2 separate regions of the Homo sapiens genome follow, and region 2 is linked to region 1. The links are contacts of gene promoters, found by promoter capture Hi-C in blood cells and fetal thymus (Javierre and others, 2016). All regions are on one chromosome and are shown on one strand. The core of a region is centred on a gene start or on the middle of the fragment in contact, and the rest is flanking DNA. Distances in the headings are between cores, read along the strand shown.

Region 1 (7,617 bases), core at 1,373-3,872:
AGAAATTCCTCTATAATCCTACTAAATTATACTTGCAGCATCCATAAAGAAAGGTAAGAACAGTCTGTAACATACCATATGCCACAAAAAAACTTACTTCCATCTTGTACTAAATGCTTTGTAGGATGTTCTCACTGGCAAGGCCAAAGGCTTCCCTTCTGCAAAAACTTGACAAGTAACATAAAGATCAGAGCATGTCTCTTGATATAGTCCTGAGAACTTCAACATTGGGTCTTCCAGGACAGCTTTATAACTCTTTTGTTCTCTCTTCCCTTCCAAGCTTCCTCTGAAAGCACAAGACCAACAATGTTTCAGACATGAATTTTTTAAGCATGTACATATATACATAAGTACTAAGCATGTACATATATGCTTTAAGCATGTACATATATGCATAAGTACTAAAAAGTTTACCTTTGTGTTAAGGTATGCTACCTAAACAACATTTTCCTGTATATGAAATTAATGTCATTTTTATATATGATAAGGGTTTCTTAAAATCCTAACATACCTAATATCAGTCCCATCTTCATCAACACATTTCTCTATTTTATACTTCTGAATTTTAAACGCTGCCATTGACCCTTGATCTACCCTCTGGAAGTCACCAGCTTTCTAGGCCTTGGTTTCATTTTCTTCATTTCAAGTTGACCACATATTCATCTATTCTTTCAGGAAACATTTACCATAGTGGACAAAGAAGCCCAGAAGAAAGAAAAGATAAGCAATACAGTATTACAATAAAATATTAAGTCATTGCTTCTGGGGAAAAAAATTTACTTTTAACTGCATGTTTTTATTCTACTCTTTCCATTTTTTTCTTTTACTATGCATATGCATTGTCTGATCATTTCTTTAAAACAGTGGTATAAGTCATAAATAGATATGCACAGGATACTATCACAGAGGGAGGAACATTTTTTAGACATCAAGATTACATCAGATACTGTGCCAGGCATTTTATATTTTCTTTCTTACATAATTTTCACCATATTCTCATTTTATAAATGAGGAAACAGAGACTTATAAACTAAACTCCTTATCCACAGTCACAACGTAAGTAACAGAGCTGAGAATAAACACTAGGGCAGGGAGGCCAAAGCCAATATTCTTCCCATTACAGTAAGATAAATCAGAGTCTCAAGAGTACTTAGGCTGGCATGGGGAAGGGACTTAGTACCCCAGATAGATGTCTGAAATGATCCTGAACAATGCATGAGAGTTGAAGCAAAAGAAGCAGAACGTCATCCCAAAGGGAAAGGAGACAGAGTGAGACCCTGTCTCCAAAAAAAAAAAAAAAAAAAAAAGGGACCGGTTTTTTTGGCTTTTTCTTTATTTTTAATGTTCAAACATTTCAAAAAATGCATTCATATATCCAAGAAATACTGAGCATCAAGCTGAAGGAAAGCCCTTTATCAATATTGATCCTGTATAAACTACTAGTGGTGTATGCTATGGAAAATACCTTAAATGAGTGTATAAAGTATCATACAAAGGTACAAGGTGGTTGTTGACATATTACTTTTACCACCACCACCACAAACTAAAAAGTAAAGTATTTGTCAGCGAATAAGGGACTTCTGAAAATAAAATGAAATGATCATTCAAAGGTACATCAGACAACTGAGAAAATTTATCTATCACTTACTGCAGGCCTTTGACCGACACATATTTGTTGAATATTAATTGAACATACACAAGAAATGTTTATTAATTATGGATGATGCTATGGTCAATAATTTGTGATAGCTTTGACAACACTCCTACATGACCACCTTAAAAGGGACATAATTTCCAACTCTGTCTTGTGCATCCCTCGTCATTATACCAGTTCTATTATCCTCATCTCAAGATATCACGCCCTTGACCTTTACTTCAGCCGTGGTGCCCCAACGTTTTCCTGCAAAGACTCTTTTCTCCTATCTTCTTGGTACCTTTGAAACTGGAACCCTCATCTTCGACTTACTCCCAACTTCCCTGACTAAACACTGCCATACTACCCAAAGATTCACTCTAGGCCTCTATCACCTCCCGTGCTAATACACCATGTGCTCATCTTATTCTCAACTATCGCATCTGCCTGTGTCTACCTCTCCATAATTTCTGAAGCCTTCATTCCACCCTACAAGCCCCGTTCCAAAATAAAGATCGTCCTCTTACTTACGACGAGACTTGATTTCTTAATTTACAATGAAATAGTAATAAACTCTCAAAAGGCTGAACAGCAAAAACTTTAAAGACTGTAAAATACAGCGGAACTTAAGGGCTATTCCTACTGCTGTGCTTCTCACGGAGACCACGTATTAAATCCTTTTCCAAAAGAGCCCCTCTCCACGATCCACTCTCTCGCGCCTCCCTGGCTACAGCCCTCACAGCCGCCCCCAATCTGGGCCTTGAGACGAGTCACGTACTTTCTGCCTCTCACTCCCAACAGGCCCCTGCCCCCACGTCCCTACGCCCCAGCAATCCCACTCCCTGTCCCGAGTGTTCTCTTACATCTTAAGCTGGACGTTGATATCCAGGTCACAACTATAGATGTAGTGAAACTTCTCTGCTTCCCCCATCGCACCGTCTGCAAAGGTACCACCTACAGCGGGAACTTAGGTACAGGAAAAACAACATAAATGAACCAGCTGAGCCCCACAACACGGAACTTCCGGTTCCGCCCCCGCCAGCAAGCCGCCAATCCACGCCCGGAGCGAGTTCCGACGCGGCGGAACTCCCCGCCGAAACAACCCTTCCGCGCATGTGCACAAGGCGCCCACCATCTTGCTTAAGGGCAAATGTATACGGGAAACGGCTAATCTGGTTACATTCCAGTTTTCCTGTCTTGACAGCACTTTTTTTTTTTTTTAAAGAAAAAGAGACGCTATCATTTGAGCTTGAGCTGTACCTAAAACAATACGAAAGAAAATTCAATTCAAAAAGAATTATAACAGCTTTCACTGGCTGCCGGCTAAACAGGTTACAAGCACAAAAATTGGAATTTTGCCAGGTTTAAATTCCAGTGGCCTTCCCAAAAAGTGTAGCACTAATTTGCTATCTCAAGCAAGGATTTTCTCTTTCTGCTCTAAAGAGTAGGGAAAGGACTAAATAGAGAATAAATAAATCTGGGTTTCATGTTTGGTGTTGTCAGTATTCATGCTACTTTGGACATAATACTTGCGTGCATGTTTAAACTGGGAATATTCAAATTCAATGTAGTTTCAAGCCCTAACCCAAGTTAGAATCTAGAGGCCTCCTGTAATAACTACAGAACACAGATCTCTAAACCCTCTGAGCTCCTATAATGTTTGTTTTTATAATTATTATAATCTAAAATTGTAATACTCCCTTCCAATTAGATTGAAAACTCTTGGAAGGTAAGACCAGTGTGCCATTTACTTCCGTGTCTTGCCCCGCTAGCTGTCTAATGCATTGCTGAGTTTAATACTTCCTACTTACTGGTTATTAATGATGATATTGAATGAAAGTCTCCATTTTCTATGCCTTTATTTCTTTTTTTTTTTTTTTTTTGAGATGGAGTTTTGCTATTGTCGCCCAGGCTGGCACCATCTCGGCTCACTGCAACCTCCATCTCCTGGGTTCAAGCGATTCTCCTGCATCAGCCTCCCAAGTAGCTGGGATTACAGGCACCCGCCACCCAGTCAGGCTAATTTTTGTATTTTTAATAGAGATGGGGTTTCACCATGTTGGCCAGTCGGGTCTCAAACTCCTAACCTCCAGTGATCTGCCTGCCCTGGCCTCCCAAACTGCTATGTCATTTCTTTTTTTTTTTTTTTTTTTTTTTTTGAGACAGAGTCGCTCTGTTGCCCAGGCTGGAGTGCCCGTCTCTCTGTTGCCCAGGCTGGAGTGCAGTGGCGCGATCTCGGCTCACTGCAAGCTTCACCTCCCAGGTTCATGCCATTCTCCTGCCTCAGCCCCCCAAGTAGCTGGGACTTCAGGTGCCCGCCGTCACGCGCGGCTAATTTTTTGTATTTTTTAGTAGAGTCAGGGTTTCACCGTGTTAGCCAGGATGGTCTCGATTTCCTGACCTCGTGATCCGCCCTCCTCGGCCTCCCAAAGTGCTGGGATTACAGGCGTGAGCCACCTCGCCCAGCCTATGTCTTTATTTCTAAGTGCTGCATTTTAAGACGGACATCACTAAAGTATGTGCAAAATGGCGTAATTAGAATGTTGAGGGATTAGAAAAAAAATATTTCCAAGAAAGGGTGAAAGGTGTGGAGCTGTTTAACCTGGAAAAGGAAAAAAAATGGCTAATGCAGAATGTTTTACACAAAATAAGTTCTCAAAAATATTTATGGAGGCAAGAAAAGGATTTGGGTAGAATAAAGAAAAACATGATAGTTATCCTCCTATAACTTAAAGTTTAAACAAAAAGAGCACCTTTGATTTGTTCCTAAGAATAACTGCCACCAATGGTTGGAACTTACAGGAAATGTAATTTCAACAAACAATACAAATTGAACTTTCTAATTATCACAGCCATTCAACAGTAACACTGTTGTCACAAGTACTCTGTTTAAGGCATAACTCCAGCAATGAGTGTGAGGTTTGATGTGAAACCTCAATCTTGAATAAAATATTGACAATGTGTAAAGGAGTAAATTATCTGATCCCAGTGGTGAATAAATTACTTTCATTATGTAATGGTATTTAATGTATAAACCTAAGATAATATTATATACATATACAACCAAACAAATTTACAAATTAAATATAAAAACTTCAAATTAACAATCTTAATATAATAGTGGGATTTTTTACGGAAACTGTTGTTTGCAAAATGATTATGGAATATAGTGTTGGCTACTCTTACAGGACTGATTCTTTGAAATTCAGCACGTCTATACTGCTATATTCCACAGGGCAATTCATTTTTCTAGACTCTTTTTCTCTATTCAAATAACTATGAACTCTTCATGAGTGTAACCACCATGATGTATTCTGGCTTTATCTTGCCTACAACACATCTTTTTGTTTTAAGCCTGACTTTGTCCTTTTCTCATTAGCTCATAACAATTAAAGTAATACTGATTGTTTCCAAAACAGTTGCAAACACAACACAGATAAAAGCATGAAAATCAAATGTCAGTACTTAGTTATAAGATATTCATTCACAGAACCCAAAATAGATTTAACTTTTTAAAGATTATCAAGAGAAAAAAATAACATTAAAAATGTATTATAGAGGGATCTCAGAAAACTTGACTGTAGTTGTATTAAATATGTTAATACATCAAGGAAAACTAATGTGCCAATAAGGAGCAAGATTTTGGTAAGTCATGGAAGCATGGAAAGAATTATTATAGAAACCAAAACTCTCAGTGCCTTTTGTACTGTAAGTCAGGGAAGTGTTGGTTGGTAGACTTGAGTATCAGAATTCAATTAACAAGGCCATCTCTATAAGAGAAAAGGAAGCCTTAAGCATCTTATTTTGAAAGGAGAGGAATGATTTTTTCCTTCCCATGTGATTTTCATGAATCATGAATATAACATACGCTCATAATTATGGGATACAATTTGCATTGCAAGAGTCCACGGTGGCCTGTCTGCAGAAAAATAACTTACAGAAATAGGTGTTTTCTTGGTGTGGTAGGCTCTTCCAATGATTATTATATGATCCCATATTTAATTTTCCCTTGGAGTTGCAGTTTTGGCTTTGTGCTTCTTTTGCCACCTTGTTTCAATTTCTATTTTAATTATTCTAGTAACCAGTTTTAATGATGGCTTAGAAATGTGTTGATTGTGCCCCATTTCTTCCTTCCTTCCTTTCTTTCCTTCCCTTCCTTCCTTCCTTCCCCCTTCCCTTCCCTTCCCTTCCCTTCCCCTCCCTTCCCTTCCTTTCCTTTTTCCTGAATCGAAGTTTTGCTCTGTTGCCCAGGCTGGAGTGCAGTGGTGCAATCACAGCTTACTGCAGCCTCAACCTCCTGGGCTCCAGCAATCCTCCCACCTTAGCCTCCTGAACAGCTGGGATTACAGGCACGCACCACCATGCCTGGCTACTTTTTAAATTTTTTTTGTAGAGATAGGGGCTTACTGTGTTGCCCAGGCTGATCTCGAACTCCTGGGCTCAAGCAATCCTCCCTCCTCAACCTCCCAAAAGTTTAGTATTACAGACGTGAGCCACCATGCCTGACCTCCATTTCTTCAATTGCCCAGGACTGACATAATGATAATCAGGTTTATTTTTGCCAGTTTCTATAACCCAATTTATTCCCTTTGCTTGGAAATTTTTTTAAATGCACTGATAACTTTACAAAGCAACAGTCTGTTACTGAGCTCCCATCAAGAATAAACAAGTATGATGCTGTGAGATTAAATCTATCTCATAATTCCTTTTTTTCTAATTAAAAAATGCCTTTGTGAGTTTTCTAATAACTGTGTTTTAGAACTCAATCACATGCTAGAACAGACAACAGTGCTAAGGCACTTGAAAAATCCTAACTAATAATTCAAAAGTCTTGGCCATTTCTCAGCTGACAATGTGAAAAAAAATGGGCTTAATGAATATCCATGAATGATCCTAATGCAGGAACCCCCAAGGCCTGGGTCGGGGGTTCCATTCAAAAAGGTAATTTATATAGCTGCAAAAGGGAAAGAATAAAAGCATAAGTTATTCTGAAAAATAATAAAATTATACTTGCATATGTGTTCCTTTGTAATATCTCTGTTACATAATAACAAAGCTCCCTAGTCTTGGGCATTTCTTTATAGCAGTGTGGAAACAGACTAATAATCTGGGTTTCTTATTGTGTAAGCAATAATTATGTTTACAAATTAAGCCACTTTCATTTTTTAAAAATCTTTCTGTTACATACAGCTGGAAGCATATAATTCCTAACACGGTGTTAAAAGGTTTTTCATGTTCTGGCTCATGTGGTACTGTTCAAGCTCTCTAGACTTAGTGTAGTCAAGAACTCTAGGCCCTATCAAGTTTAGACCTTTTAAAAACTGTGCTAGCCTCTGGGAAAGTCTCCATTTTTCTTCCTGACTCCTACCAAAGGAACTTCTATTAGACTTATGCATTGCAAGCCTAAGATTACTCCTTCAAGGAAGCCTCTTCTGATGCCACCTTCCTCCCACAACACTAGTTAAACCAAGTCATTCAAAAATCTATTCCTCCTCGTATTCTTCTTTCACAGCACTTCCAAGAGTGTCTGTCATAATAGTTTGGTTGATTGCTGTCTGACCCACTAGACTGTGAGCTCTGTGAGGAAATGGTTTGTGTCAATTTTATTTACTACTTTTTATGGATTGAATGTTTGTGCTCTCCAAAATTTACATGTTAAAATTAAATCCCTGATACTAAGATATTTGGAGACAGGGCCTTTAGGAGGTAATTAGATCTTGAGGGTGGAGCCATCATGAACTGGTTTAGTATCCTTATGAAAGCTGGCCAGAGAGCTCTCTTGCATTCTTGCCTTGTGAGGATACAATGAGAAGTCAGCAGTCTGCAACCCCGAAGAAGGCCTTCACCTGAACCCAACCATGCTGGCACCCTGATCTCAGACAGCTAGCTGCTAGAAATGTGAGAAATAAATGTTTGTAGTTTAAGCCCCCGCCCCCTTACTATGGTAATTTGTTATAGCAGCCTGAGCAGACTAATACACCACT
Region 2 (7,617 bases), core at 2,315-4,814, 35 kb before region 1:
ACCATAGACATCTGGGGGTCAGGAACTTTCACTAATTCAAAACTTGTTAAAATTGGAGATGATTCATCACCGTCCTAGATTACAGAGCAATAATTTTTTAAAAAAAGAAATTTAATACAATAGGAAGCAGTATATGATGTACACATCAATGTATTTTAATTCTATTTGATGAACATCATTCTTCCCTTTAAAGAAATCCTTATCTTCTTCTAACAATATTATAAAATGCATGTCCACTTTGTACCTCTCCTTGGTTGATTATGAAATTGTTTTGAGAAAAACTCTAACAAAATTCTTACTAAAGTTTTAGAGGTATGAGGTCTGGAAATTAGATTGTTTCGAGTTGTTCCTTTTTTTTAAACTTCGTTCATATAATGACAGTGGATTTTTAAAAACGTGCTAATTTTCAAACTCAGAACAAGAAACCACAGACTATATGTAAAATGTGGCACAATGGATGTGTTGCATCATTTGCAAAAACTAAGTGGATGTTGGTAATTTTTCAAGGTATCATAATGGAGATCCATTCAAAGAAGCAGAATTTTAAGTGTAGGGTTAATATTACTCAAATTTACACACAGCTAGAGAATCAACAACGTTGTTTCTCAAAGGGACACCTGCTCAACATAATCTAAACTTGAATAATAAAATCAATCAATCAGTTTTTCAGAAATAAAGCCATCCTATTTTGTTGGTATTATCACCTTTGAAGAATGTTGGCTTTTATTTTTCTCCAATGTGAGAAAGGTAATTCAACATAAAAATGTCACTGCCAAATATACTGGAAAAAGGCTAAACTAATTAAGGTCAAAATTCACTTTCTCATGACTGTATATTTAGCATCAAGCTTTTCTGTCAATTTCCAAATGCTAGTATGTTTTCAATTTTAAATATGGGCAACAAACTCAAGAGAGACTGAAAGCGGGGAAGCACTGTAACTTTACTTCAGTTCAGTAATTGAGTCTTACAGAAAACCACAAATTCCCACAGCCGTTGTTTAACAGGCTTGTTCTCAGTCACAACACCAGAAAACACATTTATCAGCCTAGCTGTGACAAGTAATCTTCACTAAGGCTATCTGTCACAAGACAGGTGACAAGAAAGTCTATTTCCATTAGATTCAATACACTGGCCCAGCAATCTTTACACTAAGTGGAAATATGACAGGGTGGGTAGACAGGCATTAATTTATGAGCAATTTTCAGGAAGTGGTAGAAAGGGGTCAAGAACCTTTTCAAAAATACTTGAAATTCTTCTAATTTCTATTCTGTTATTATTTCATCTGCTATCAAGCTGTCTTTCAAAGGATCCTTCACATCTCCAGTGTTTGAAAGTACCATCTCCATTAGCATGTTTTTGCAATACAAACTCTATATGGGCAGAAAATACTGCCTTTAATGAAATGACATATAGTTTAAAATGTAAAATATGATTTTATTAAAATGCACTGGTGACAGAACAGTTTCACTCACATTTCCCTTGTTTTGATGTATTTTTTCTAATAAATTAATAAACAATGTTAAATAATCTATCCAAGGAGTACCATTTATAAAATAAAAGGCAGAAACAAGTTAACACTTCCTAGTCTTTCACTAACGTGAAAGGGATATGAGTTAAAGACAAAAATATGAACAGTAACTTGAAAAAAGATCATAAATAAACTGTAAAAACTCAAACCTTCATTATGAAAACCTTTCAAATAGTAATTTATAAAAGTATACATATTTTAAAAATCACTTGTGACAGCTTTAATAAACAACAATAAAATGTAAATTTAATTTAAAAGGACTGCTTCTAATGAACAAATACACTGCATATCAGCTTGGTCATATGCTAGAAGAAATATTAATCTACTACTATGCCATGTATCAAAAGTCTGTCATCATTTATGCTGATTTAACATTTGTTGACTATTAACACAATAATAGAAGATACTTTATGTGGTTTCAAACTATGCATACATTTTTTTTTATATTTATTTTAAATAAAGATGGAGTCTCGCCATGTTGCCCAGGCGGGTCTCAAACTCCTGGGCTCAAGTAATCTTCCCACGCAGCCAACCACAGTGCTGGAATTACAGGCATGAGCCACCACACCTGGCCTGCATACAATTATTTTCTGTAGTACTTAAATATATAATTATTTCTGTAGTACTTAAATGAAGCACCTTCTACAAGCATTTAAGGAAGATACTTTCAAGTAGGTACATAATAAACACAGAACTACTTTCTGTAGCATAATGGGCAGAACAAAGCAAATCTATAACTGCATATTTGTTATTACCCAGCCTGATGGTAAAATTGTCTTAATTTTGCATCTATTGTACAAATGGACATTTCTGAAGTATTTCATAAGTATACTTCAGTGAGGGCCACATATAGACATTACACATACACTCAAATAACAAACAGACTCTTAACTTTCAATAAATAGCCTACCACTTAGAAATATAATTTCCCCCTTTCATTTTTTAAATAAATAATATTAGTAAATGAAGCCATTACTTAGTGTCCTACTTGCCAATTTGCAGAACAATTAATCACAAAGTTTTTAATCACTTGCATACTTATTGAATTCTGTAACCCAGAACTGCATTACATGAGTGATAGGCTTTTGTAATCTTGTTGTAGTTATATGATTTGATTTCTGTATACATAAACAGCTGCTGCTGACAGCTGTCTGCTGCTACCCTGCAACCAAATAATTCATCCCAGCAGGAACAACAATATTTTTTTAATGTTTCCTCTCCCCTCTACTTTAGAGACCAAAAACAGTTCCAAGGGAAATACCTTTTCATAATAAACAATACCATATTCCTTATCATCACACTTGACACATCGAAATTCAACCATCAGGTACATGAAATTAGAACTTCGTTTTTCACTCTGAAAAAAAAAATGATTTTCATGAAAAATGATTATTTTCAACATTCTCTTAAAGGATCAGTATGTATCATTTTTCCTAATTCAGTAATACATGTATCTATCAAATACAAGTCAAAACATAACACATTTTTATTTTATTATATACATGTAGTGTGTTTTACACAGCACTATTATTTTATTATAGACAGCACTACTGTTTATTCAGTAGTGTCTACTATGCACTTATAACTGCTTTCTCAAATTTAACATTTTTGGTTTATTCAGTAGTTTGGGTTTATAATCTTGAAGGTATTTTGCACACATGTTCATGAGAACTATTTTATTTCAAAAATAAAAAGAATGGTTTTTCCTTCTAACAATTTTAAGCTAAGTTCACCCTTAACTTATATGACTAAACCATAGAAATCAATATGTGTAACAAAAATCAAAAGGAAGAAAAGTGTGCAACCTAAGAACAGAGGCCATTTGAGTTTACCAAGTATAGCCTTTACAAGTTTTTCGCAATTTATAAATGGTCTTAAAATGATTTGTCATTTGTAAATTTTTATCCACACTTTAAATATACTGCGGAATAATTACTTCTTGTTCCAACATAAAAAAAAGTTATTTATATAATTGTGTCCCCTTTAAAATAAAAAAGCAAACATGGTCACATGTCACTTAACGACAGGTGTACATTCTGAGAAATGCATCATTAAGCAATTTAGTCGTGTAAACATCATGAAATGTAAACACACAAATCTAGATGGTATAGCCTATAGCACACCGAGGTTATATGGTGTAGCATATTACCCCTAGGCTACAAACTTGTTACTTCAGGTTACTGTACTGAATACTGTGGGCAACTGTAACACAATAGTTAGGTATCTGTGTATCTAAACATACCTAAAAGAGAAAAAGTACAGTAAAAATAAAGTACTATAATCTTACGGAACCATCATTGTACATGTGATCTGCAGTTGACTGAAATGATATGATGAGGCACATGACTATACTAAGGTGATGATAAAGTGAAAATACAATGAAGTCTAAGCGGGTGATTAGCCTTGACCCAAAACACCTTTATAAATGGCTTTACATCTAAAACATAAAATCACCAGGCATGGTGGCTCACACTTGTAATCCTAGCACGTTGGGAGGTGGGAGGACTGCTTGAAGCCAGGAGTCTGAGACTATCCTGGGCAATATAGCCAGACCCTGACTCTACAAAAAATTTTAAAAATATTAGCCAGGCCTGTAGTCCTAGCAACTTGGGAAGCTAATCAGGAGGACTGCCTGAGTCCAGAAGTTTGTGGCTGCACTAAGCATACCAGTGTACTCCAGCCTGGGTGACACAGCAAGACCTTGTCCCCCAAAAAAAACAAACAAAAAAAAGAAATAATAAATGATAAAGGTCTGAAGAGGTTACTTAAATTCTTCAGCTTTATGAAGCATATTATAGTCTATTTTGTAATAGTAATGCGGTGGTAATGGTAATTTCTTTCAAAGAAATTAAAATGTAAAAATATGAAAAAGGCTGGGCAAACTCTAACATTACGTTTTCTATACCCAGTGATATCTAAGTTTAAGAAGAGAAAAATATAAGTTAGTATTATGAGTAAACTCTTTTTGAAATGTGACTATTATAAAAATTAAAAAGGCTTCCTTCCAGTTTATGTATATAGGAATGTATTATGAATAAATTTAGAAAAGGTACCAAATACGAGAATTGAATATAAATGTTGTTAAACATCACTACCTTTATTTTAAAATAAAAGAATAATGCTAAAATCTAACTTTTGTAATAGTTCACTGTAAAATTAAAAACTTCTCTCTTTCTACCTGCTGAAAATTATTTGGAGAATATAAATTAAGTAAGTTGTGCCTTATGGTCATTATAAATTAGACAAATCACAAATTGATGTCCTTCTCTCCTAATTTGATTAATATAATTATTGTTTCTGTTCTCTAGATGTGGAACATTAGGCCTAACATCTGGCATTTTAGAGCAAATATACAAAAAAGTAAACTATTCTTGTTACAACTTTTGGCAGGACTCTCATTGAAGCCATCTTTATTTAAACATACACACTGGCTCACATACAAGGTCAAGAAAAAAATCACCTAAATCATGTAACTTTATAGAGGGTGCGGAGTCCTATATGTAGTACATAGACAAGTAATAAATTAATTGAAGAGAGAACTTGCTGAAATGATTTATGGTAACTGAAGTGAAAAGCTGGCACTGTGCTGATGGAAGATTTATCCAACGCTGACTTGAACATGAGCTGATATGACAGAGAACACACCACTGAGGCATTAAGTCTGCATAGGCTTCACTCATATGATATTTAGAACATCTTTGAATATCCACTACCTACTTCATAGTTTGACATTACGTTAAAATATAGGGAAGGCTGATATCTCCAATTTTCCAGTTATTAGCATAGAATTCCCAGCTACAGGGGTTAACCCTGATAATCCTATATTTGTAAGATACCTAATAATAATTCTTATCAAAAAATTGTTAATTTAAAAATTTACAGAAAATATTTTAAAATAAAAGAGTGATATAACCCACCTCATTTATCATTTCTATTTCTCTAAATGTCAATCTATCCAGCCAATCTACTTTCACCATGTGTCCTTGTCGATGAGCTTTGGTGAGCTGCAGAATAAATACAATGACGAAAATTTTAATATACATCTAGTAGAAAGAAGGACCAAAAATGTCAGAATGGCAATGTACACTTCACATATGATACTTTCCTATACACAATAGAAACCATACGCAATTAGCAGGATAAGAAACTTGGCAAGAGACAAATCATTATTTTTTAAAGAAAAACAATTAAATTTTTTTTAAAAAGGTCCATAATTTGCCATATTTTGACATGATAAAGAATAATGAAGTTGTTCCTGAAATTATCTCCGTGTTCCTATATTTCTTGTATTTTGACTATTACAAAGAGATGAAATTATAATAATAGTTTCATGAATGGGAAATAAACCACTTTTTCTCTTTTCTTCCCATCTTTCAATGTATCTAACCAACATGAAAAAATGACAGTTACAGGTAATAAGGTATTTTTCTGGGTTTGCACATTAATACTCTAAGGTTTAAGCTCACACATATGCATGTATGCTTTAATTTTAGGCAACGGTGATAAAAGACTTCAATTTTCTAGAATAGCAGTTGGTAGAGTCCTGTGAGGTCTTACATACCAATCTAACCTTAGTTTTATAACTTTAATAATTCATTGACTCTTCAAATCCATAGAGAATTCCTGGTAAGTTCCAAGGACCTCAAATTAGAACCAGGTTTTGAATTAGAAACTGTAATACTAAAAATCAACACCCCTCTCATTCCTTCTAAACAAATTGACAGTATAAAGCAAAACTGGACATCAAAGCTTTACATAGTAGCTTATCTATATCAGTTTCTTCTGCTTCATTGTCCATATCATGACAGCTTTCCTATAAGAACAGCAAACACTGCCACCAATTTCATCTCTCTTGCAGAATTAAAAATCTTCACTATCAATCTTCTTTCTCTTCCTCAACTCATCACAACTATGTGGTCATACTATTTCAGAAATAAAAATACTAATGTCACACAAAAAGTCTGAAGTTCATTGTAATAAAAAAAAGTAATATCAATTTAGCTTTCTTCCAATAATTCCCTTTCATGTGAGGTAATTTCTATATGAAAATGTATGAAAAGTTATTAATAAGCTTAGCATGATTACAAAAAGCAGGAACTAAATATCGTGGTGGCTCTGGTGGAATAATAGACAAATATGCTAGCAACATGGAAAGAGACCTAGAAATAGTCACAAGGAAACCAAAAGAAGATCAGACAATGTGACCTACAGAAAAGAGTGCTAGAGTAGGAGCTGGAAGACCAGAGTTCCAACCTTAATACTCCATTTTCAAACTATGTCCTTTCTGAACCCACATCAATAAAATTCAAGTATTAACATCTATTCTTACTCCCAAAACTCAAATAAAGTAATAGATGCAAAATATAACAGGTGGTATTATTTCATGCAGTCATTGGAAGCCTCTATTCTTACTCACTTCGCAATATGCTCCAAACTGGTTTTCAAAATAAATGAAAATGTAAAAGGTCATTTTACATCCTTTGCTTGTACGAACGAAGTAACAGTAAAAATTAGTAATAAGAGTTTATATACTTCCTATAGGAATGGAGAAAAAAATAACATTTATTTACATGCCAAATTATAGGCACTTTTTATAACCACACTATTTTGTAGACTATTTTGACCCCAGTTTGCAGATGACTATCAACTACTACTATGAAGTGGCCAAGCTAGGGTTTAAACCCCAGACTATATGATTCTAAAGCCTATACTCCTACCACCAGTCTGCTATCCTCTCTACTGATGTACTAAGAGCTTTAAGTGAAACTCAATTCTGTCGTTTCTCGAATATTAGTTTTGTATTTATGATACAATAGTTGATCCACTGCTAATTTCCTATGAGCAAAGAACTGGCAATGGTAAATTAAGTTTGGATGTGGGAGAATGTGGTGGGAACTTTTTTCCTCCTTTACTAAAACTATCCAGACAAATTAGAAATGTTCTAAAGCCATTTTCACTAGCTCTAGAATTTATGTTTGCTGCTAATATATATTATCTCCCATATAGCATATGATTAGCTTTCCTATTTGAATACCAAATATGACCTATCTCAATTGTATAAGAGCTACTAAAGAATGTATGGACAGCAT

The links. Contacts are between HindIII fragments. The CHiCAGO score rates a contact against its expected background, and 5 or more counts as called.
Region 2: a contact is called between a fragment that was not itself captured here and the fragment with the promoter of PIK3C3 in region 1, in 1 of 17 cell types (monocytes). The highest score is 6.6, in monocytes.

The regions. Positions count from the first base shown.
Region 1 is chr18:41,950,239-41,957,855 of GRCh38, reverse strand. PIK3C3 (phosphatidylinositol 3-kinase catalytic subunit type 3) reads right to left here and starts at 2,622. Exons shown (of 25, transcript NM_002647.4): 1 at 2,497-2,622; 2 at 98-286. The coding sequence starts at 2,564. RefSeq lists an enhancer at 2,665-2,844. The HindIII fragment of the contact is 3,603 bases long and covers 283-3,885 here.
Region 2 is chr18:41,985,727-41,993,343 of GRCh38, reverse strand. PIK3C3 (phosphatidylinositol 3-kinase catalytic subunit type 3) reads right to left here. Exons shown (of 25, transcript NM_002647.4): 5 at 5,446-5,532; 6 at 2,790-2,885; 7 at 3-74. Among named protein-coding and RNA genes, the nearest start is that of PIK3C3, 34 kb to the right of the region's middle. The HindIII fragment of the contact is 5,430 bases long and covers 850-6,279 here.